2 separate regions of the Homo sapiens genome follow, and region 1 is linked to region 2. The links are contacts of gene promoters, found by promoter capture Hi-C in human tissues and cell types (Jung and others, 2019). All regions are on one chromosome and are shown on one strand. Each heading gives the region's core, a stretch centred on a gene start or on the middle of the fragment in contact. The rest is flanking DNA. Distances are from core to core; before and after follow the strand shown.

Evidence for each region. Contacts are between HindIII fragments. The study calls those that stand out against the background at their distance.
Region 1: a contact is called between a fragment that was not itself captured here and the fragment with the promoter of CNTN2 in region 2, in 2 of the 25 tissues and cell types used here (dorsolateral prefrontal cortex and pancreas).

The regions. Positions count from the first base shown.
Region 1 is chr1:205,261,433-205,267,058 of GRCh38, forward strand. The region is part of intron 2 of TMCC2 (transmembrane and coiled-coil domain family 2); the gene reads left to right. Among named protein-coding and RNA genes, the nearest start is that of TMCC2-AS1, 27 kb to the left of the region's middle. RefSeq lists an enhancer at 1,833-2,530. The HindIII fragment of the contact is 8,685 bases long and covers 1-5,626 here.
Region 2 is chr1:205,040,552-205,045,647 of GRCh38, forward strand. CNTN2 (contactin 2) reads left to right here and starts at 2,661. Exons shown (of 23, transcript NM_005076.5): 1 at 2,661-2,843. RefSeq lists enhancers at 2,355-2,499, 2,447-2,591 and cis regulatory regions at 2,427, 2,519. The HindIII fragment of the contact is 16,049 bases long and covers 1-5,096 here.

The DNA.
Region 1 (5,626 bases), core at 1,830-4,329, 220 kb after region 2:
ACTCAAGCAATTTTCCCATTTTGGCCTCCAAAAGTGCTGGGACCACAGGTGTGAGCCGCTGTGTGCAGCCCACTTATTTCCTTTCTAAAAATTACTAGGGGCTGGGCTTGGTGACTCATGCCTGTGGCCCCAGCTACTTAGGAAGCTGAGGTGGGAGGATTGCTTAAGCCTGGGACGTCGAGACTACAGTGATCCACGATCATGCCATTGCACTCCAGTCTAGGCCATGGAGTGAGAACCCGTCTCAAAAAAAAAAAAATTATTATAGTCATTCTAAGGGTGTGAAGCGTCTCTTAATTTGTTCGTATTTGTTTCTAAGCACCTGCTTTATGCCCTTTACTCAGTGTTTCATCTCATCGTCCTGATAGCTCTCAGCTGGTAAGTGACAGAGCCAGGATCTAAATTAGTGCCCAACTCCAACTTTAAAGCCCTTTCCTTTACCTTCCGCAGACCCTGTATCCTGTCTCATGGCTGTTCTTTTTGGCAAGTCTTTCTCCTTTTCTCACCCTCTGTCCTGTTCCAGCACTCTGAACAGCTTTCTCATCTTTTTCTTCTTGTTCACTAATTTTCTTTCCTTTGTTAAAGCATAATCTTTCCTTTGTTAAAGCTGTCCCTATCTGTGTACCAGCTCCTTGGCTCTGTTTACCTTGGTTGCCCTCTCTCCATCGAGTCCTGAAAGGTAGCTGTCACCCTGGGTACATGTGCTGGGGAAGGCAGGGCATGGAGAGCTCCCCACCTTCTTCAGACATGCCAGCTCCCTCCACGGGGAAGGAGAGCAAAGTGATGTTCTGTGATTGGAGACCCAACAGCAGATCCCAGGCATTGTAAACCTCTGTGAGGGGTAGGAAAAAGCCGGCGTCCTGCTGCAGGACTCCCAGGCTGGAATCTTGACCCTGGGGTAGAGAAGAGGGGCTAGCAAGAGGACCAGGATCCCAGCCCAAGGCCCCTCCACACACCAGGCCCAGGAGTGTCTCTTCTCTCATTCCTGGGGATTTCCCAGCCAGCTCCGACTCTGCTTCTCAGAGTTGTAACTAGACAGCTCAGCCTCTCAGGGATCTGGAGGTCTTGGGTTTCCTCCAGGGATGGGGGCAGGGACTAAAGATCCTGGAGGGGAAGGATGGGGGGATGTCTGCTATTTCCTGTTAACATGCAGGGTGTTTCCCTTGTTCTCCAAACTTTGAAATAACCTTTCCTGGGTTTGGTCAGCTTGTGTGTGAAGAAGGCAGATCCAAGTGAGATAAATGTGAGGTTTGCCCCAGAGGGAGGCTACCCCATTCTTGATTTGAGGAGTGTCTCAGTGCAGGCTGGGGCTCCAGGCAAACTCTGCCTACATCCCCGTGTCCTTCTTTGCATCCCTGATGGGTGGAGTTGGGGACTGCAGGATCTAAGGAGGAGGCTGGTGGTGGGGAGAAGCTCTTAGATGCTTTCCTGAGGTTGGGCTCCAGGCTACAAGCAGGAATGAGCTCAGTCTCAACTAGGATCTCGTGGTGAGTCCGTAGTAAAAGTCTCTGGTTGGCAGGGGGAGTTATTGAAGGGAGTTAATTCAGATGGAAGTGGTTGCCGAGGTGTTCCAGCCTCGAATGCAAAAACCACAAACAGGATCTTGGTATCTCCCACAGAGTGTTCCCTCAAGCACCCCCCACCGCCTCCCGCAACACACACAAACCTCTTCTCTCTCTTGTTCTGAGGTTTGCCCACATGCATGCAGGTACACACACACACACCCCTAAGCACGAGACGGGGCTGGGTGGGCAAGTGGAGTCTGCATGGAGACCAGTGAGATTAAGGGTTACCTCCAGTGAGGAAGGCTGGAGATGCCACCGTGATGTCTTCAGAGGTGATTTTAAATGCTATGGCCAATATTTGGACCTTTCTAAGGATTTGCACGCCCTCAGATATGGAGAAGGCAGGACGGGGCTGGGGAGAACTCCTTTCTTTTTCCTTGCTCTCTCAGGGTGTAAAAACCCACAGTCTGGCCGAGTGCAGCTTGGCTCAGGCCTGTAATCCCAGCACTTTAGGAGGCCAAGGCAAGAGGATTGCTTAAGCCCAGGAGTTTGAGACCAGCCTGGGCAACATGGCAAAACCCTTTCTCTACAAAAAAATACACAAATTAGCCAGGTGTGGTGGCATGTACCTGTAGTCCCTGCTACTGGGGAGGCTGAGGTGGGAGGATTTGAGCCTGGGGAGGTCAAGGCTGCAGTGAACCATGATTACCTTACTGCACTCCAGCACTCCAGCACTCCAGCCTGGGCAGCAGAGTGATTCTGACTCAACAAAAAACAAAAAAAGCCTGCAGTCTTAGCTATATGAAATTCCAGTTTCATCGCTGTGGAGTGAGGCTGGGCTGTGGTTGATAACCACTGATTAGACTCTTGCTTCCTAAAAAGGTGGCAGAGGGCCAGCTCTCCCAGCCAAAGGTGTCTTAAGCTGTGGATCTGTCAGAGCTACCCAGCCCTCCAAGGTGAGGTTAGGCCCTGAGTTTTGGAGCCAGACAGGATTTATATTCTAGGTTCTTTACTTACTAGTGGTGTAGTCCTGGGCAAGTTACATCTGTAGGCCTTGGTTTTCTCTCCTGTAAAATGGAAATAATAGTGCTACCCATCTTGTGAGGTTAATACTGGGATTAAATGAATTAATAGGTGTAAACACTGAGAGACAAGTCTGACGTATGTCAAGAAATGTTAGTGTTTGAAGGAGATTGGTTCCAAGACCCCCTGCAGATACCAAAGTTCCAGATTGCTTAAGTCTCATACAGTAAATAGTGTAGTATTTGCATAGAACCTGCACACATCCTCCCTTTAAATCATCTCTAGATTACGTACAATACCTAGTACAATGTAAATACTATGAAAATAGAAAATAGTGTGACACTGTTGTTTCTTGTTTTTTGTTTTTTGTTTTTGTTTTTGAGACGGAGTCTCTGTCACCCAGGCTGGAGTGCAGTGGTGCAGTCTTGGCTCACTGCAACTTCCGCCTCCCAGGTTCAAGTGATTCTTCTGCCTCAGCCTCCTGAGTAGCTGGAACAACCGGAACATGCCACCACACTCAGTTAATTTTGTTTTTTTTTTTTGGGACGGAGTCTCGCTCTGTTGCCCAGGCTGCAGTGCAGTGGCGTGATCTCGGTTCACTGCAAGCTCCGCCTCCCAGGTTCGCGCCATTCTCCCGCCTCAGCCTCCCGAGTAGCTGGGACTACGGGTGCCCGCCACCACATCCCACACCCAGCTAATTTTTGTATTGTTAGTAGAGACAGGGTTTCACCATGTTGGCCAGGCTGGTCTCCAACTCCTAACCTCAGGTGATCCGCCCGCCTTGGCCTCCCAAAGTGCTGGGATTACAGGTGTGAGCCACTGCGCCTGGCCCCTGTATTTTAAAATTTGTATTATTATTATTTTAATCCATGGTTGGTTGAATCCATGGATGTGGAATTCTCAGATACAGAAGGCTAACTATAATTGTTATCCTTATCCTTTGTCCAAAACATTTAGAATTTGAGAAAAAGAGAAGAGCCCAGAGGCCATAGGGAAAATATGCCACCTTTCTGGAAGCCAGTGGAACTGAGTCCTCCACAGGGAAGAGAATAAAATGGGGATATGTTCTGTGACTGGAGACTGACCCGCTCAATCCAGGCATTGCAGACCTTCATGTCACCAAGGAGGTGTCCAGGCCTCTGTGGAGGGACGGAAGGAGCTGGTGTCCTGCTGCAGGACTGTTAGGCTCAAGTCTGGGTCCTAGGGTAGAGAAGAGGGGTGGACGAGGGGGCCAGGGCTTCAGCCCAGGCCTCTGCACCCACCATCAGGCCCCAGCTGTTTTTCCCAGGAGTGTTTCTTCTCCTCTCATTAATGGGGATTTCACAGCCAGCTTCAACTCCGCTTTTCCATTTGTAAGCCAGAAAGATGCCAAATCAAGGGAGGAGAGAGCCAAGCTGCTAGGAAGGAGCCACGGCAGGTGGAGACTTTGCTATTTTACACTCCTGTATAGTCCTAAAACACTTTTGCTTTTCACAGCATTTCACATCCATTTCTTATTAGCTCCTCCCACTCTCCCCCTAAGTAGTTGGGACAGACTCTGTCCCTGTTACAAAGATGAGCAAATGGCAGTGATGCAGCCAGACTCAGAACCCATTTTCTTTTCTTTTTTTTTTTTTTTTGAGACGGAGTCTCGCTCTGTCGCCCAGGCTGGTGTGCAGTGGCGTGATCTCGGCTCACTGCAACCTCTGCCTCCCAGTTCAAGAAATTCTCCTGCCTCAGCCTCCTCAGTAGCTGGGATTACAGGCGTCCGCCACCACGCCCAGCTAATTTTTGTATTTTTAGTAGAGACAGGGTTTCACCATGTTGGTTAGGCTGGTCTCGAACCCCTGACCTCATGATCCACCCGCCTCAGCCTCCCAAAGTGCTGGGATTACAGGCATGAGGCACTGCACCTGGCCCCAGAACCCATTTTCTAGATATTCTTTCTCCCAAGAAGACAGTGAAAGAGAGCTGGGCATCTGTGGAAAGGGCAGCAGCTTTATAAGAGAGACAGGTTCTGGGCTGGGCGTGGTGGCTCAAGCCTGTAATCCCAGCACTTTGGGAGGCTGAGGCGGGCGGATCATGAGGTCAGGAGATCGCGACCATCCTGGCTAACACGGTGAAACCCCATCTCTACTAAAAATACAAAAAATTAGCCGGGCATGGTGGCAGGCGCCTGTAGTCCCAGCTACTCGGGAGGCCGAGGCAGGAGAATGGCGTGAACCCCGGAGGCGGAGCTTGCAGTGAGCCAAGATTGCGCCACTGCACTGCAGCCTGGGCGACAGAGCGAGACTCTGTCTCAAAAAAAAAAAAAAAAAAAAAGTTCTGTAACATCAAAGGCCATGTGTTGCCTATAAAACATAATTTTGGGCCGGGCGCGGTGACTCATGCTTGTAATCCCAGCACTTTGGGAGGCTGAGGCGGGTGGATCCCCTGAGATGAGGAGTTGAAGAGCAGTCTGGCCAACATGGCGAAACTCCATTTCTACTAAAAATACAAAAAAATTAGCCGGGCGTGGCGGCTCATGCCTGTAATCCCAGCTACTCAGGAAGCTGAGGCAGGAGAATCACTTGAACCCAGGAGGCATAGGTTGCAGTGAGCTGAGATGGCCCCACTGCATTCCAGCCTGGGCGACAGAGACCCCGTCTCCAAAAAAAAACAAAAAACAAATAAAAAAAAAAAAACCGTTAATTTTGTGTAGTTCTAGCAATACAGAGTAAATTTGTTGGTATAATTTCTGAAATAAATTTAGGCCAGCTTGATTGCAGGCATTTTTTCTCCCAGGGGAAAAAAGGGATTACGCTGCCTAGATTCAGATTCAGCGTTTAATGAGCACCTTCTGTATGCTTCGCACTATGCCAGCTTGCCAGACGTCATCTTGTATAGCTCTCACAAAAGACCTGAGAGTAGCTGTGATTACCCGCTTTTTGTCGGCGAGGACACTGAAGGTCAGGAAAATGGAGAGATGGGCTTTTTGCTGTCACTGCAGGGAACAAGGCAGGAAGAAGCAGCCTAATTGCAGGTTAGGGTTTTAAGTCAGGCTACTGGGACAGTTAAGACCTTGGAGCAGATCACTTAAGGGAGACTGTGGGTATGAAAGGTCAGAAATTCTGAGAAGC
Region 2 (5,096 bases), core at 1,411-3,910:
ACAGTAGGTAGCTGGAGTCCATGGCACGGTGGCTAAGCCAGGATGCTGGAGGCCGATCCCAGGCCTCACTCTGTCATCTAGGCTGGAGTGCAGTGGCACGATCACAGCTCACTGCAGGCTTAACCTCCCAGGCTCAGGTGATCTTTCTACCTCAGCCTCCTAGGTAGCTGGGACTACAGGTGTGCACTGCCACACTGGCTAATTTTTGTGTGTTTTTTGTTGAGACGGGGTTTCGCCACGTTGCCCAGGGTTCCACTTGTTTACTATTTCTTTTGAGCAAGTTCCTTACTCTTACTGAGCAACATCTGAAAAGTGAGGATAATAACAACATGGACCTCTTGCGCAAGTAATTCAGGTAAAGCATTTAGCACAGCTCCCGGCATGTGGGAGGCATTCAAAACAGATATTATTTCTGTTATTATCAAGCTAATGGGCCCCACAAGCAAAACTCAGCCTGCACCCCCAAATGCCCACCCCACTCTCTCCTCAGGAACAGGAGCATCTCAGAGACTGGGAGTGCAGATCCCCCTAATCTCCCCAAACTCATTCATACTAGACTTCACTGAGAGCTTCAGACAAGTGAGAAGATGAGACTTTGGGAACTGTCTCCCCATCCAAGTCTAGGCTTGGCAAATGTTCTTGTTTTCACTTATTGTGTCTGCCAGAGTCCACATGGAGCATGCTGGTTGCATTGAGATCTGAGAGTCTTTAAGACCCAAGTCACCTGTGCTAACGACCCTCCCCAGAGACCCAGCTCCCACCACAGGGCAGCAGCTGTCCTAAAATAGAGTCACAAAGACAGCTGTCTCCGTCTAAAGCAATCCTTGCAAGCATTTCCAGACTGTTGGTTCCTGGGCCAGCCTATTTCCTGGCCCGTCAGCCCCCTGCAGCAGACATAGCATCCTTTTCTTGGCAAGGACTTGTTCCTGCCGTTTTCTGCTAGGAGAGAACTTGCAGAGCCTCTCTTTGGAGCCCAGGCTGACTTGAATGGTGCCAAAGAGCAAGGTTCACCTCAGGAGCTCAGAGCCAATGTGCCAGCCCTCAGACATACAGATAGGCAAGGACAGTGTGGGCAGGGGAAGGAAGGGAAAGATATCCTGGCAAGGGGTTGATGTGTCTGTCTATATAACAGCATTCAACATTATTTAAGAAACATCATTAGCAAAATCCAAGTCCTCCCCATCAGGAACAAAGAAGACTATCTCTCAAGTTGGGCAAGCCCTTTGGAGGGGCTCAGAAGGAAAGGAGGGGAGCGCATGTGGGACCTGGGCAGACATTCCAGCCTTGGAGGCTGAGCAGCAGAACCTCCCCGACTCCTTCTCCTTTTCCAGACCCTCTCATTCTGGCCCAGGTCCCCAGGACCTCCTCCACTCAGGGAGACATGGAGCCATGATCCAGGCTTGACAGGTATAGCCATTTAAAACTGGGAGGCTGGCCTGGCCCTGCCAGCTGTTGCAGCATCTGGACTGCTCACCGGTCTTGCCTGTGCAAGCTGGACAGCAGGCAGATCAGAGGGGGGTGAGACAACAGTGACAGCCTGACAGGGCCGACTGGTGCCGCAGATGGCTGGTCCCTCCGCCTCCGGGCCACAGCCTTCCTGGGCACTCCCCCACGTGACCGGAGCAGGGCAGGAGAAAGGCATCGCTGACAAGGGTGAGCACTTAGAATCTCAGAGCTGGCAGGACTGTGTCCATCTTTAATCCCTTCAGGTACCAGCGAGGCTCAGAGAGGGCAGGGCACCTAGCCAAGCACACACAGCCAGTCGGTTGTGGAGCCCAGAGTATGCTTCAGACACCCAGACCCCTAATCCAGGGAGCTTTTCATGACATCACACTGCTGGTTGCTTAAAAATGGGATTGGATCCAAACGTACTGATGCGTAAAAGTGTCCAAGATCAGTTACACAGTTAAAAGTCTTTGGCCAATCCTACTGTTTTATGTAATCACATTTGTGTGAAATAACCCTACTAACCCATGTAATTGTATACACGAAAATAATAAACCTGGGGGCATGTACTTAGATTTATTAAGAGTAGTGGTTGAGGGACTTTCACTATGTATTTTTAAATGTCCTCTAATATTTAGATATTTTGACAAAAAGCTCAAACTACTTTTGAACAAGGGAAACAATAAAGAGGAACATGGGGTGGACCGGGCAACAGAGACAGCCCCTCCCTGCCACTTGCCCCACACAGCAAGCTGGGATTTCTGATTTGGATCTCTTCCTCGGATAGGGGATTTCTGGGGAAACCAGGAGTTTTGGCTCCATGGGTCTCCAGGGTTTGAGGAGTAAGAGCCACTTTCTTTTCCCTCTTCACCCCGCCCCTCTCCTGCCCCTTCAGCCCTGGGCAGGGGGACTAGAAGTGGGGCTGGGCAGGATCGGGAGGGCAGGCGGGCCAGACAGCGCCCCGCGGCCTGTCCATGAGCGGCCCATGCATTATGGAAGACGCGCGCTGGGCTCGCTCCCTGGTCCTTAAATGACAGCAAATGAGGTAAAGCCAGGAGGGTGGGGACGGAAGTGGGGTGGGAGGGGGGCAGAAGGAAGCCATCTCCAGGGCCCCCGAGCGTTGGCTGAGGACCAGAGCCAGCCAGTGAGCGGAGCCTGGGAGAGGGAGGAGCACATCTTGATGCAGAGATGCTGCAGTGGCTCCGGGCGCGCTCACACACACGCGCCCTCACCCGCCACCGCCGCCGCGGCCGCCGCCGCACCCGGACAGCGAGCGGCTGAGGCCGCCAGGGCCCAAAGGACAGCGGCCCAGACAGGGGCTGGCGGCCCGGCCGGCCCCGGCTCACCGACTCGGGCAGCATCCACCTGCCCCAGCCAACACCCTTCTCTCGCCCCAGGTAGGTGCCAACCGCTTTTGTCTCCTCCAACCCAGGGACTTCCCTGCGTGCTGTTATGGGCCGGGGCTCCCGGCTCAGTTCCTGTAAATATCCCCCTTGTAACTTGGGAGGGAACAGGGACAGGAACACTGGCAGGCTGGGGCCGTTCTGACTTCTCCCCTCAGCCCCAGGGTGGGTGCTGGGGCTCCCCTCCGCCCTGTCTACGTGGGCGGCATCCCGCAGGGCTCTCTCAGGCCGAGCCTGGCCGAAAAGCTGGACCCCAGGAGTGTGTCCAGGAATTCCAGTTGGCCAGCGGGCAGTGGCAGCTGCCTGTGGAGAGGGCAGTTTCTCCTGGGCCGGCCCTGGGCACCCGGTCCAGGACAGGACCAGTCCATACAGCCAGGCCCTGGGCCCTGGCCTGCCCCAGAAGTCCCTGCATGGAATTGAGCCGGAGTCCCCAGTTTTGAGGTCACCCAGGGTCTACCTCTGCAGGGTGACCTCTTTGCAAAGTCTTGCTTCAGCTGGATGGAGAGGGGGGCTGTGGAAGAGAGAGGGGAGAGTGGAGCACAAGTTTGGGCAAGGGCCTGTCCAGGAACTGGGACTCGGGGAGGAGAGTCCTGAGGCCAGTCACATCCCAAAGGGCGAGAGGCTGGGGCTACCGGGCTGAAATTCCTTTCCTTCCCTTCCCCCTCCCAACCTTAGCTTCTCCTCAAATCCCTCCCCCCCATCCTCACTGGTGGGAGGGAAGAATTTGCACAAAGTTTGGCTTTCCAGTAAGGAAAGGGGCTGGGGCCAGAATGGTATGGGGAAGGGAAGGGGCAGAGCTGGGGAGTTCTGGAAAGAGAGGGCAATCCTTCTGCCCAGCACCGTGGGGCTTACATAATGGGCTGGAGGTGGGGGGCAGCCCCAGCCAGTGAGTGTCCAGAGCTGAATCCTGTCACCTTCTCCAAGAGGGTCTCTCAGGTCTGGGAAGCAGCGGGGCATGGAGAAGGCAGTGCCTATGGAAGGGGAGAATCCTGCTGCTACTTGGGGATGGAGACGGGCACCCTCTAGCCCCAGACCCCTGGGGGTTGAGCCTGTGTCCTGGGGGGGGGGGTCCAGTGAGGCCAGGAGGGAGTGGGGTTGTGCATGCCATGGCCCCAGCCCTGGAGAAAGGTGGGTTTCAGCATCTTTTCCCTCTGCTCAGAAGGAGCTGGGAGGAGGAACAGCCCAAGAAACCCAGTGCACAGGTGATGTTCTGGTCTCGTCTGGGCAACAGTTTCGGCCTCCTCTCCCAACCGTCTGGCCAAAGACGCCTCAGCTCACTTAGCCTCCGAGTCTCTCTACCTCCTGGTCCCACTCAGAGGGGCCGGATGAGCCACTGGAGATCGAGTGCAGCAAAAGGTGGGCCACCTGTGGGAGAGGCTGCTGTGATCGCACCTGGACAGGGAGATGGCCTGGAGGTCACAACAGGTGCCCTCACTCCTGGCCTTGGGAGAAGGGAGCTCTCCCCTTAAAGACAGCAGCATCCAAGCCCCTCCCCAGGGTGCCCACCAGTTAACCCCTTTCTAGCCAAGCTGCAGAACCATGGACAGGGCTTTTGCCACAAGGTCAGAGTCCTTCCTAATCTCCCGTGGAAGTCCTCAGCGAATAAGAGGGAGGCAGGAGGTGAGACAGACAGGAAAGGGCCCCTGACCTGATGATGTCAAAGTCACCCAAGGTCCACCTGCCTCACAGGTGCAGAGACCACTGTGCTCACACCATGAGCGGTGAGGGAAGCAGAGGCACACTCCTTATGCAGATGAGTGCCTCAGACTCCAGGAGTCTGCTCTCATTCCCGGCTCTTTCTCTCTTACTCTCCTCCCTTCCTCTACTCCTTCTTTCCTCGCACTCCCTTCTCTCATCGCGTGTACTCCACCGGCTTCAGCCCTCAGCCTCCCGCCGCCACCATTTCCCCTGCCAGATTTCACTCCTTATGCAACTCCATTCCAGCACCTTCTCTGCCAGCAGTTGTTCAAATAGAGACACATGTGGGATGGGCCTCCGAGGAATTGTGCTTAACGGGGTGATTGCACATCTCGTCTCTGGCTGACCAAACTTACTCCTTAGGAGCATGTACATAGACAGGTGTACCCCAAGGCATCCTTTCTGCCTCTAAAGTCACCAGGGAAGCAACGCATTTGGGGTGGTTTGGAGGATGCATGGTGCCCTCTTCAGAAACCTCCTTGAGCCAAACGTTGGTGAGAAAGCGTATTTCAAAGACAATCTCTAAGCCTGAGTGTGGGTGGTATTTGT